Linked DNA regions of Homo sapiens: all the other regions are linked to region 1. The links are contacts of gene promoters, found by promoter capture Hi-C in blood cells and fetal thymus (Javierre and others, 2016). All regions are on one chromosome and are shown on one strand. Each heading gives the region's core, a stretch centred on a gene start or on the middle of the fragment in contact. The rest is flanking DNA. Distances are from core to core; before and after follow the strand shown. Region 1 overlaps ZSWIM5 (zinc finger SWIM-type containing 5). Region 2 holds the start of MMACHC (metabolism of cobalamin associated C). Region 3 holds the start of PRDX1 (peroxiredoxin 1).

Region 1 (3,155 bases), core at 182-2,681:
CTGTCAGCCCTTACACTCTGTGAGAAAGACCACATTGCCTTTGAGGCAGCCTACCAGATTGCCATTGATGCTGCTGCTGGTGGTATGACCCATTCACAGCTGTTCACCATCGCCCGCTACATGGAGCTCCGTGGCTACCCGCTACGTGCCTTCAAGCTGGCCTCATTGGCCATGAGCCATCTTAACCTGGCCTACAACCAGGATACTCACCCAGCCATCAATGATGTGCTCTGGGCTTGTGCTCTCAGCCACTCTCTGGGCAAGAATGAGCTGGCAGCTCTCATCCCCCTGGTGGTGAAGAGTGTGCACTGTGCCACAGTGCTTTCAGACATCTTACGACGCTGCACAGTGACTGCACCTGGCCTGGCCGGCATCCCAGGCCGCCGAAGCTCTGGAAAGCTCATGTCCACTGACAAAGCTCCATTGCGCCAGTTGCTGGATGCCACCATCAATGCCTATATCAACACTACACACTCACGCCTAACACACATCAGCCCTCGCCACTATGGAGAGTTCATTGAGTTTCTAAGCAAGGCTCGGGAGACCTTCCTGCTGCCCCAGGATGGCCACCTGCAGTTTGCCCAGTTCATCGACAACCTCAAACAGATCTACAAAGGCAAGAAAAAGTTGATGCTGCTGGTGCGAGAGCGCTTTGGCTGAGAGAGCAGATAGCTCACTGCCAGAGCAGCCTGGGTTCCCAGGTAGTATCAGGTCAGGCCAAGGGCACTGAAACATTTGTCCACCCTGAGAGAACTCTGAGCACCTGTGGATGAGGCCAAAGGACCACAGGGCTAAGGATGGGGAAAGTCCAGCTCTAGTCGATAATGCCTACCTTGGCAAGCTTCTGACTACAGCCTACTGTTCATGGAGGAGCTGGGCCCTGCAGATCGACCAGAAACCCCACAACATGCCACCTCATGCCCCTATATCCTGCGTGTCCTGAGCATTGGCCCTGTCTCCCTTGGCAAACACAGAACACTGTTCCATCTCAGGGATTGCTTAACCAGAGAAACAGACACATTTGTGGGACTGTAAATACTATATGTGTTGCTAATTATTGTAAACTTGTAACTATTTATAATTCTGCTTCTGATTTGATGGGCACTTGAAGTAGCTGTGGGTAGGAGGATATGCTTATTTTCTGAGGAGACTCACAACCATTTCTCAGGTTTCCCTTGCAGAGTGTTTGCTGGTAGCAGTGGAAGAGTGGGGGTGCCAAGGAGAAAAATGGCCAGTTAGGATCAACCCAAGTCTAGTCTATGCAGAATCCCCCACCTACAGACAGGGCATTTATAGTCCAGTGGTGAGTGAGGGACAGAGGCCAGGACTGGACTTAGACTTTTGCCTCACAAAACTGTGAGGACATTGAAGCTCCTGCCTCACACAGCCTCTTCAGGAGCCTGCTGAACACCTGAGAAACAAGTGCAGGGAGAAGATGAAGGTCTGGGAAGCCGCTGAGTTCATAATATTCATCTACTGTGGTCACCTTTGTGTTAGCAAGTGTGTGGTTTCATCTATAATTGTGTGTGTGTATCTTTATGGCTAAGTACATGTGTGTATGTACATAGATACATCTGTGCATGCCTGTTTGTGCACATATATATTTATGTGTATGTGTCAGTTCTATGGCTGTGTACCTGTTTGAATATGTGCACACTGGACTGTGAGTTTCTACGTGAGGATATACACATTTTGTGTACATGTGAGGATGCACATCTTTGTGCAAATGCACTCATGTTTGTGCATGTTTAGTATGTGTATCTGCGTACACGAGTGCATGTGTATAAACATGTTTGTATCCATGTGTATGCTTGTTATCCATGCATCTGTGTCTTTATATGTGTAACTGAGCGTATTTCTACATGTAGGGATGTCTGTGTATTCATGTTTGAGGATCTGCATCAATGTGTCCTTTTTGCCAGATTTCTCTTTCCCATTCCTCTTAAATCTCTCTCGCCAGCTAAACGTTTGTTCCCCATCTCTGTGCCTCCTCTATTCATTCTCTCACCAAACAAGCTTCTAAGCACCAATCTCCCTCTGCCATCAGATTGGCTGCTTTAGCTCCATAGTTCTCTTCTCGCCTCATACTTGCTTTCTTCCCCTGCCTTTCTACCTCAAGCTTCCTCGCCGGCTTTTGTCACAGTCTCATTGCTCGCTGACTTGGAGGCTAGGGCTGGTCTGCACTTAGCCTCTCCCTTCCTAATTTCTAGCCCTAGTGGGCAGTCCTGTCTTAGCCCTGGCTGACCTCCATAGTGTATCATGTTCCTGCTACCTTCCTGACCCCTGTGCTCAGCCTGGAATTGTTATAGGAGGTAGCAAGGGCACTCAGAAAAGTCAGTTGGAACCAGTGTCTTGGTGTTTACTGTTTCATGTCTTAGTTCCTGAGTTGGGGGTGGGGTTTGATAGGGAAGGGGTGGTATAGCTAGAATGTGAACTAAGAACTTCTCCATCTGCTTTACTTTTTCTTTCTTCGACAAACTGTCACCTTTTTTACTCCAAACTGACCAAGAAGTTGTATTTGCCATTTGTGGCTACTCAAGTCTTACTGTCCAGCCAAGGGCCCCTACGTCTCAGCCCAATGGGTTGGTTAAAAAAAAGAGAGAAGCCACTCTCATTTCTGTATCACAGTTGCCCTTTTTTAGCAAGTGTGTGAATTCACAGTGCTTTTCTATGAATAAATCATGGATCACATAAAAGATCATTTTTCTAAAAGCAGAAATTGTGTTCTCTCACTAAATGAAACCCATCTCTCCTTTCTGCATTGCCCTGGCTGGGCCAGGGAGCTGGTTCAGCCTACAGCACAGTGGGTGCCTAGTGGTCTAAGGAGATGCAGAATGACTGACAGATAAAGAATTTCTTGCCATACCAGACCCTTCCCCAGGGCTTACAGACACCTCAGAGCCTTGTCCTGGGAAGCAGGTACCACCAGGAAGGGTGGAATAACCAAGATCTTGAGAAAATTAAAGGGGATGCTCAGAAAAGAATATAAAGCAACCTTGAGTTGCCAGAGGGTCTTTTGGTTTCAGAGGACTTCTTGCTTTGGTGATGATCGACTTGTCTAAAGCTCCAATCCTAAGCAACCTAGCTCTGAGCTTTCATGTCCTCTATATATTTTGGTGTCAAAGCTGAGGGTCCCTCAGCTTCTCCCTGCTTGC
Region 2 (3,143 bases), core at 621-3,120, 480 kb before region 1:
TCAGAGGGAGAGAAGGCTGGAGAGATCAATAGGAGTGAGATTTTGATTGGCTTTGAATACCAATTTAAGGAATATGGATTTAATTTGGTGACAGTGAAGAGCCACTGAAGATTTAAGGAGTAAACTAGCATGATCATTTTTAGATCACACTGGCTGCAGTGTGGAGGAGGGACTGGAGGTAAAATTACAGCAAGGAGGTTATTACAGTAATCCAAGTGAGAAATGGTGGCCTGGACCACAGCATAGATGGGTGGAATACAAGGGAATGGATTTGGGAGATTCAGTAGACAGTCTTATAGGTCTTGGTGGCTGATTGGATGTGGGGGTAGGGAGGTGAGAGGTAGGAGCCTAGGGTGACTGGCAGGGCTGCAGTTGGCTTTGTTCAGTACAAAAGCTCCTAATACCCAGGTCTACTCAACTTGCCAGATAGGCATTCTCACTCTCCCACACACCTGCCATCCACTGAAACGGTGTCTCAAAGAGTTAAAGGTCGATCTGCAACAAATAGCTTTTGTTTTCTCAAAAACCCAGTGTCATAATATTAGCTTCCAGCACATCAGGCATCAAGCCCTTTTACTTGGTAACACCACACCACTATCTCCACACCTTTACTCAAGCTTTTTCTGATATTTGGGATGTACATAACCCTCCTTCCTTCCAATCTATCTTTTCATATATAGCTCAATTCCATTTTTTCTGGCAAGACCAGTCTCAAGCTAGACCCAACCTACTTCTCCCTCTATATCCTCTCCCAGGACTGCTGTGAGCCACTCAGCAGAAGGAATGGGAAGTGGGTAGTCTCTTAAGCATCAGGCAAAGGGCTCAAGCTGAGCTGATTTAGCTTTGTAACTTAACTGCTCAGTGCACAGGGCACTGATGTGGGGAAATGTAACCGTGTAAATGGGGGTCGGGGTGCGGTGCTGAGACTGCTGTGCCAGGCAAGTGTACAAAGTTTCATTACCCAGCCCAGCACTGATGACTGGAAATATCATGAATTATCCTTCTGTTGGTAGAGGGAACAAACCAGCCAATTGTTTGCCTGTTCATCACCAGGAATGCCCTTCCTTCCTCAGCTGACCTAAATGATAGCTATGCAAACCTTCTAGGCTTTGCCCTCTCCTAAATCCTTTAGGAAGTTCCAAGGTGACTTTGCCTCACAGGTCCCTTTCTTCTTGTAAATTATATAGGTGACAATCTGAGCCACACACGCTACAGGTCATATGGTGTCTCCCGTTAACGAATCCGGCATTATATGGTGGCAAAAGGTTAAACATGCGACAACTTTTTTTTTTTTTTTTTTTTTTGACACGGAGTTTCGCTCTTTGTTGCTCAGGCTGGACTGCAATGGCGCAATCTCGGCTCACTGCAACCTCCGTCTCATGGGTTCAAGCAATTGTCCTGCCTCAGCCTCCCGAGTAGCTGGGATTACAGGCATGCACCACCACGCCCGGCTAATTTTATATTTTTAGTAGAGATGGGGTTTCACCATGTTGGCCAGGCTGGTCTCGAACTCCTCACCTCAGGTGATCCGCCCGCCTCGGCCTCCCAAAGTGCTGGGATTACAGGCGTGAGCCACCATGCCCGGCCTCGACCACTACCTTTTTAACCCAAGCCCCCACTGAAACTCTGTCCCTGTTGTCACATGGACACTGGGCTGCAGGAACCCAGGAGGATCAGAGGCTCCCGAGGCCTCACGCCAGTTGCAACGAAGCCAATCATATATTTCGCCCTAGAACAGCAGGAGGGATAAACTAACCTGGAAGGGGTAAACCTCGAAGCCAAAAGGACATAGCGTGTCCTCGATCTTCTGCTTCAGCTCTGCGACTTTCGGCTCCATAGCGCACGTTACACGCTGAGCTTGCTGGGGAATGAAGTCTCAAGGACAATTGGGCCGTTACGTTTTGAGTCAGCTTCGACTCCATTTCCCAGGTAGGAAATGGGTCCAGTAGCGGGACCATATTGCCTATGCGCGATGCATCTTGGGATGCGTAGTTCGTTTCCTCCTTGGAGACAGCCACACGAAATCAGGAAGACTCAGTTTCCCGGCAAGCTACACGGTGGGGGTGTGCATGTACGTGTCTCTTCTAGAGAAAGGTAGTTCCACCGCCTCCATCGCCGGTTGTGTTCGCAAGAGGCGACCTCAGTTTCCCAGGTGGCGCTGCGGCAGCCAGTCCAAAGTCGGACTTTCAAAACCAACCCGAAGTTTTGAACCCGGCGGCGGCAGTTGTCACTGGCACAGGTTTGGCGTGGTGGCGCCAGTGTACTACTTCTGGGGAGGTCTCAACCAGGTTCTGGCACCTTCAATCCCCACCTGATATCTGCGTATCATCACGGTATCCCGCTTTTCCCCCAGTTCCCCAAGAGCGTCCTTCCTTTCCCTAGTCACAGGATCGCAGTTTTGGTCTGATAGTGCATCCACCTACCCCAGTGTTGCATCCCCACTTCCCTCTTTCCATCTAACGTGGTGGCCTTTCCTGGGGATACCTTGGGTATCCCCCGCTAGGAGAGCAAGCACAAGACACCAGGGAGCCAGACCCCTGCCGCTCCCCTGCCACAGGATATGAATACGAGCCTCAGCTGGTTTGAGCAGCTGGATGTGCTTCTCAACGCTACTGATGGAAATGTGGTCCGGAATAAGGTGAGGGGTTGGTGGAGGTCCCCAGTTTGCGTGGGGAGGCTAAGGGACTCTCAGAGTTCATTGGCCTGTGCATCTGTTTCTTTTGTAGCAGTGGCTGTATCCTCTTGGGGTCTCCACAGAGCTCATTGGCCTGTGCATCTGTTTCTTCTGTAGCAGTGGCTGTATCTTCTTGGGGTCTCCACCGCAGGTAAGTAATGTCTCTTTCTACTTCCAAGCCCTTTCTCTTTCTGTGCCTTCCTCCAGTGCCCGTATCATCCATTATTCCTTCCAAATTCCAACTCTGTCCTTTCCTGAACTCTGTTTCCCCACACAGACCCTGCACTTAACCCTTCCTTATTTCCTCAGCCGGGGACCTGGCTGGGACCTGGATTTCCTCTCATCACTTGCCTCTGCAGTCAGGAGTCCAAGCTCAACAGCCTTGGGCTTTAGAGACTCCCATAGTTCCACAAAGGCTGAGCTGCCCTGAGTCCTAGAGCCCATCCTCTCTCTGGGGTGAGGTTGCTAT
Region 3 (3,045 bases), core at 543-3,042, 500 kb before region 1:
TTTCCTTCAGCTGCAGTGGAAGGGATGGATAAGAGATAGTGTTAATTGAAATGAGTGACTAAACTGACTAAACCATGTCACAGACACTTTTGTGGCTGTTTCTTCCCAAGAGGTTCTCAGGAGGTTTTTAGTATTTATACATTTTCCTTGAAAAGTGGGGGTGGGAAAGATTGAGGCAAAGACTTTAGCTAATGCTCAGGAAATCTACGTTTTGTTTTTTGAGACGGAGTCTTGCTCTGTTGCCAGGCTGGAGTGCAGTGGTGCTCTCGGCTCACTGCAACCTCTGCCTCCGGGTTCAAGCGATTCCCCTGCCTCAGCCTCCCAAGTAGCTAGGACTACAGGCGCGCCACCACACTCGGCTAAGTTTTTGTATTTTAGCAGAGACAGGGTTTCACCATGTTGGCCAGGATGGTCTCGATCTCCTGACCTTATGATCCGCCCTCCTAGGTGGCCTAAATCTACATTTTTACATAAGATAAGGTGAATGTTTGAAGAAAAAGGGAATGGAGGAAGAAAACAATTATGTGGTGGACTCAGGGTAATCTAGTAGTAAGGTACTACTAGAAAGGTAGAAAGTAGTCTAGTAGAAAGGTAATCTAGTAGTGAACATTTATGGAATTTGTGGAATAGAGGCCAGGTGCGGTGGCTCGCGCTTACATTCCTAGCACTTTGGGAGGCCAAGGCGGGCGGATCACCTGAGGTCAGGCGTTGGAGACCAGCCTAGCCAACATGATGAAACCTCGTCTCTACTAAAAATACAAAAAATTAGCTGGGCGTGGTGGTGCGTGCTTGTAGTCCCAGACACTCCGGAGGTGAGGCGGGAGAATCGCTTGAGCCCGGGAGGTGGAGGTTGCAGTAAGCCAACACCGTGCCACTGCACTACAGCCTGGGCGACAGGGTGAGTGAGACTCCGTCTCAAAAAAATGTGGAATAGAACAAACTTTAGTTTTAGGAACTAGACTTTATATTGTAGATCTAGTTGCAATTGACACGTCCTTGTTTTATGGGAGGCTACATACTTTAAAGGTTTCCAGGGGAGCAAATAATTAATTATGATTTTGTGTATGTGTGTTTGTGGGGGGTAGTCATCAGGAAATGTCTGAGGCCTTTTGCCTTACCGTGTGGGTCTGGCTAATGTGTAATGTTTTGACTCAAGATTGTAAAGTCAAATTATTCATCCGGGGAGAGGATGGTCGTGTAACTGAATCAGCCTCCCAAGATGAACTTTCCCTCTGGCGTAAGTTTAGGAGTCCTGATATTTTATTTTCCTTTACAACAGAAAGCAGCAACCCTGTAATTAAAGAGAACAATGAAGGAAGCTATCTAAGCCATGAGGGTTACTGAGGATCTGCGCTGGGGTTAAGGCTGCGAACTTAAGAAATATTTGGATAGACAGTTCTCATGGCTTGGTGTGGTTAGACGTGGTCCTCCGTGGGCAGCAGCTAAGACGCTTACTCCAGTTTGGGCATTGAGGGCACAGTGCGTAGTGGTCCTGGAAGTAAAGAGAATCCTGGTTTTCCGCAGAGATCTAGGATTAACCTAAGCGTTCGGGTTCGGGAGCGGCCACAAGGGCGCCTCACTCCAACCTCAGCCATCCGCAACAGGGTGGGGTATTAGTATTTTTCCGCACCCGCCCCAACGAGGGAAAGCGCCGAGTCATTCCGGCGGGGCGCGCCGGGCGGGGCTCGGGCCACATCCCCCTCCTCTCTCTCCTCCTCCGGCACCCCCGTCCGTTCCGACTCTCGCGAGATCCCTACTGGCTATAAAGGCAGCGCCCCGGAGAGCTCTTGCGCGTCTTGTTCTTGCCTGGTGTCGGTGGTTAGTTTCTGCGACTTGTGTTGGGACTGGTGAGTGTGGGCAGTGCGGCCCCTGCGGAGTGAGGCGCGGCGCGCCCTTCTTGCCTGTTGCCTCTTCCTCCTCCTGTCCGGGGCCCGCCCGCGCTCGGGTGGGGGTGCTGTGATGCGTGAGGCAGCCGGGGGAGGCCCGGAGTCCGAGACTGCTTGAGCGCTGCGCACACCCCTCTCGTGGGCCCCCCACGTAGGTGCGGGAACCTGGTTGAACCCCAAGGCAAGCGTGGACTCGAGTCGAGTCTTCCCCCGGCAACTCGAGCACGTGGCGCGGCGTCTGGGCGGGCTGGTGGTGGGGGTCTCCGAGACTAGCCTCCTGCCGGACGGGGTGGGTTCGGGAAGCTTCTGGAATGGACCTGTATCCAGACTCGTGGCTGTAGAAGACAGCCTCTATGTATTTGGCTGTTCCGGGTCCTGAGCCTTGACTAGCTGCGGAGCTTCGGGTACCCTTTCCCCGTCTTTATTTTCCTGTACGTGGAATGGAGTTAGCGATGAGCCCAAATGTCCCCGCTGAAGCACTCTCTCTGCTGGTGCTTTCTCCAGTGCTGGGGAGGGACAGGGGGCACCTGAAGTGGGGTTTAGGGATGTGGCCCTCTACGCTGGGCAGATCCCCTGAAGGGGCCCGGTGGCGGCCTGAATCCCAGCAGCCTTTACCCCGAATTGGTTGGGTTTTGTACTTGGGGGCCACTTGGGAAAGAAGGATTGGACGAGAAGGCCATTTGGGGGCACCAAGTTGCAGCATGCCTTAGTTTTTGGTTTTTGTTTTTTGTCGTTAAAGGTGTTAAGGACTTTTTAAAAAACAGTTAAAAGTTTGCTAAGATCCATGCTTACAAAATTTCTTTTGCTTGTGGTATTGTGAACTAAGAACTTTGGGACTTGGAAAAGCTTTCAGACCGCGGCTTAGTGGGTTAAATCTCTGTTTTTTGAGCTAGAGTCTCGCTCTGTCGGCCAGGCTGGAGTGCAGTGGCGCGGTCTCGGCTTACTGCAACCCCTGTCTCCCGAATTCAAGCAATTCTTCTGCCTCAGCCTTAGGAGTAGCTGGGATTACAGGCTTGTGCCACCAAGCCCCGGCTAATTTTTGTATTTTTTTTTTTTTTTTTTTTTTGAGACGGAGTCTCGCTCTGTCGCCCAGGCTGGAGTGCAGTGGCTGGATCTCGGCTCACTGCAGCCTCCGCCTCCCGGGTTCACGCCATTCTCC

The links. The method cuts DNA at HindIII sites, captures the fragments that hold promoters and counts their contacts. A CHiCAGO score of 5 or more calls a contact.
Region 2: the fragment with the promoter of MMACHC here is called in contact with a fragment that was not itself captured in region 1 in 12 of 17 cell types (naive CD8 T cells, total CD4 T cells, naive CD4 T cells and 9 more); the score reaches 10.3 in naive CD8 T cells.
Region 3: a contact is called between the fragment with the promoter of PRDX1 here and a fragment that was not itself captured in region 1, in 8 of 17 cell types (total CD4 T cells, naive B cells, fetal thymus and 5 more). The highest score is 8.0, in total CD4 T cells.

What each region holds. Positions count from the first base shown.
Region 1 is chr1:45,015,959-45,019,113 of GRCh38, reverse strand. ZSWIM5 (zinc finger SWIM-type containing 5) reads left to right here. Exons shown (of 14, transcript NM_020883.2): 14 at 1-2,715. The coding sequence ends at 660. Among named protein-coding and RNA genes, the nearest start is that of UROD, 5.3 kb to the right of the region's middle. The HindIII fragment of the contact is 1,175 bases long and covers 844-2,018 here.
Region 2 is chr1:45,499,027-45,502,169 of GRCh38, reverse strand. It overlaps MMACHC (metabolism of cobalamin associated C), which reads right to left and starts at 1,870. Exons shown (of 4, transcript NM_015506.3): 1 at 1,757-1,870. The coding sequence starts at 1,837. CCDC163 (CCDC163 homolog) reads left to right here and starts at 2,097. Exons shown (of 5, transcript NM_001102601.3): 1 at 2,097-2,638; 2 at 2,727-2,825. The coding sequence starts at 2,561. RefSeq lists enhancers at 1,876-2,075, 1,625-2,157. The HindIII fragment of the contact is 9,755 bases long and covers 620-3,143 here.
Region 3 is chr1:45,520,631-45,523,675 of GRCh38, reverse strand. It overlaps PRDX1 (peroxiredoxin 1), which reads left to right and starts at 1,792. Exons shown (of 6, transcript NM_181697.3): 1 at 1,792-1,847. RefSeq lists an enhancer at 1,314-1,393 and a silencer at 2,436-2,598. The HindIII fragment of the contact is 8,348 bases long and covers 1-2,191 here.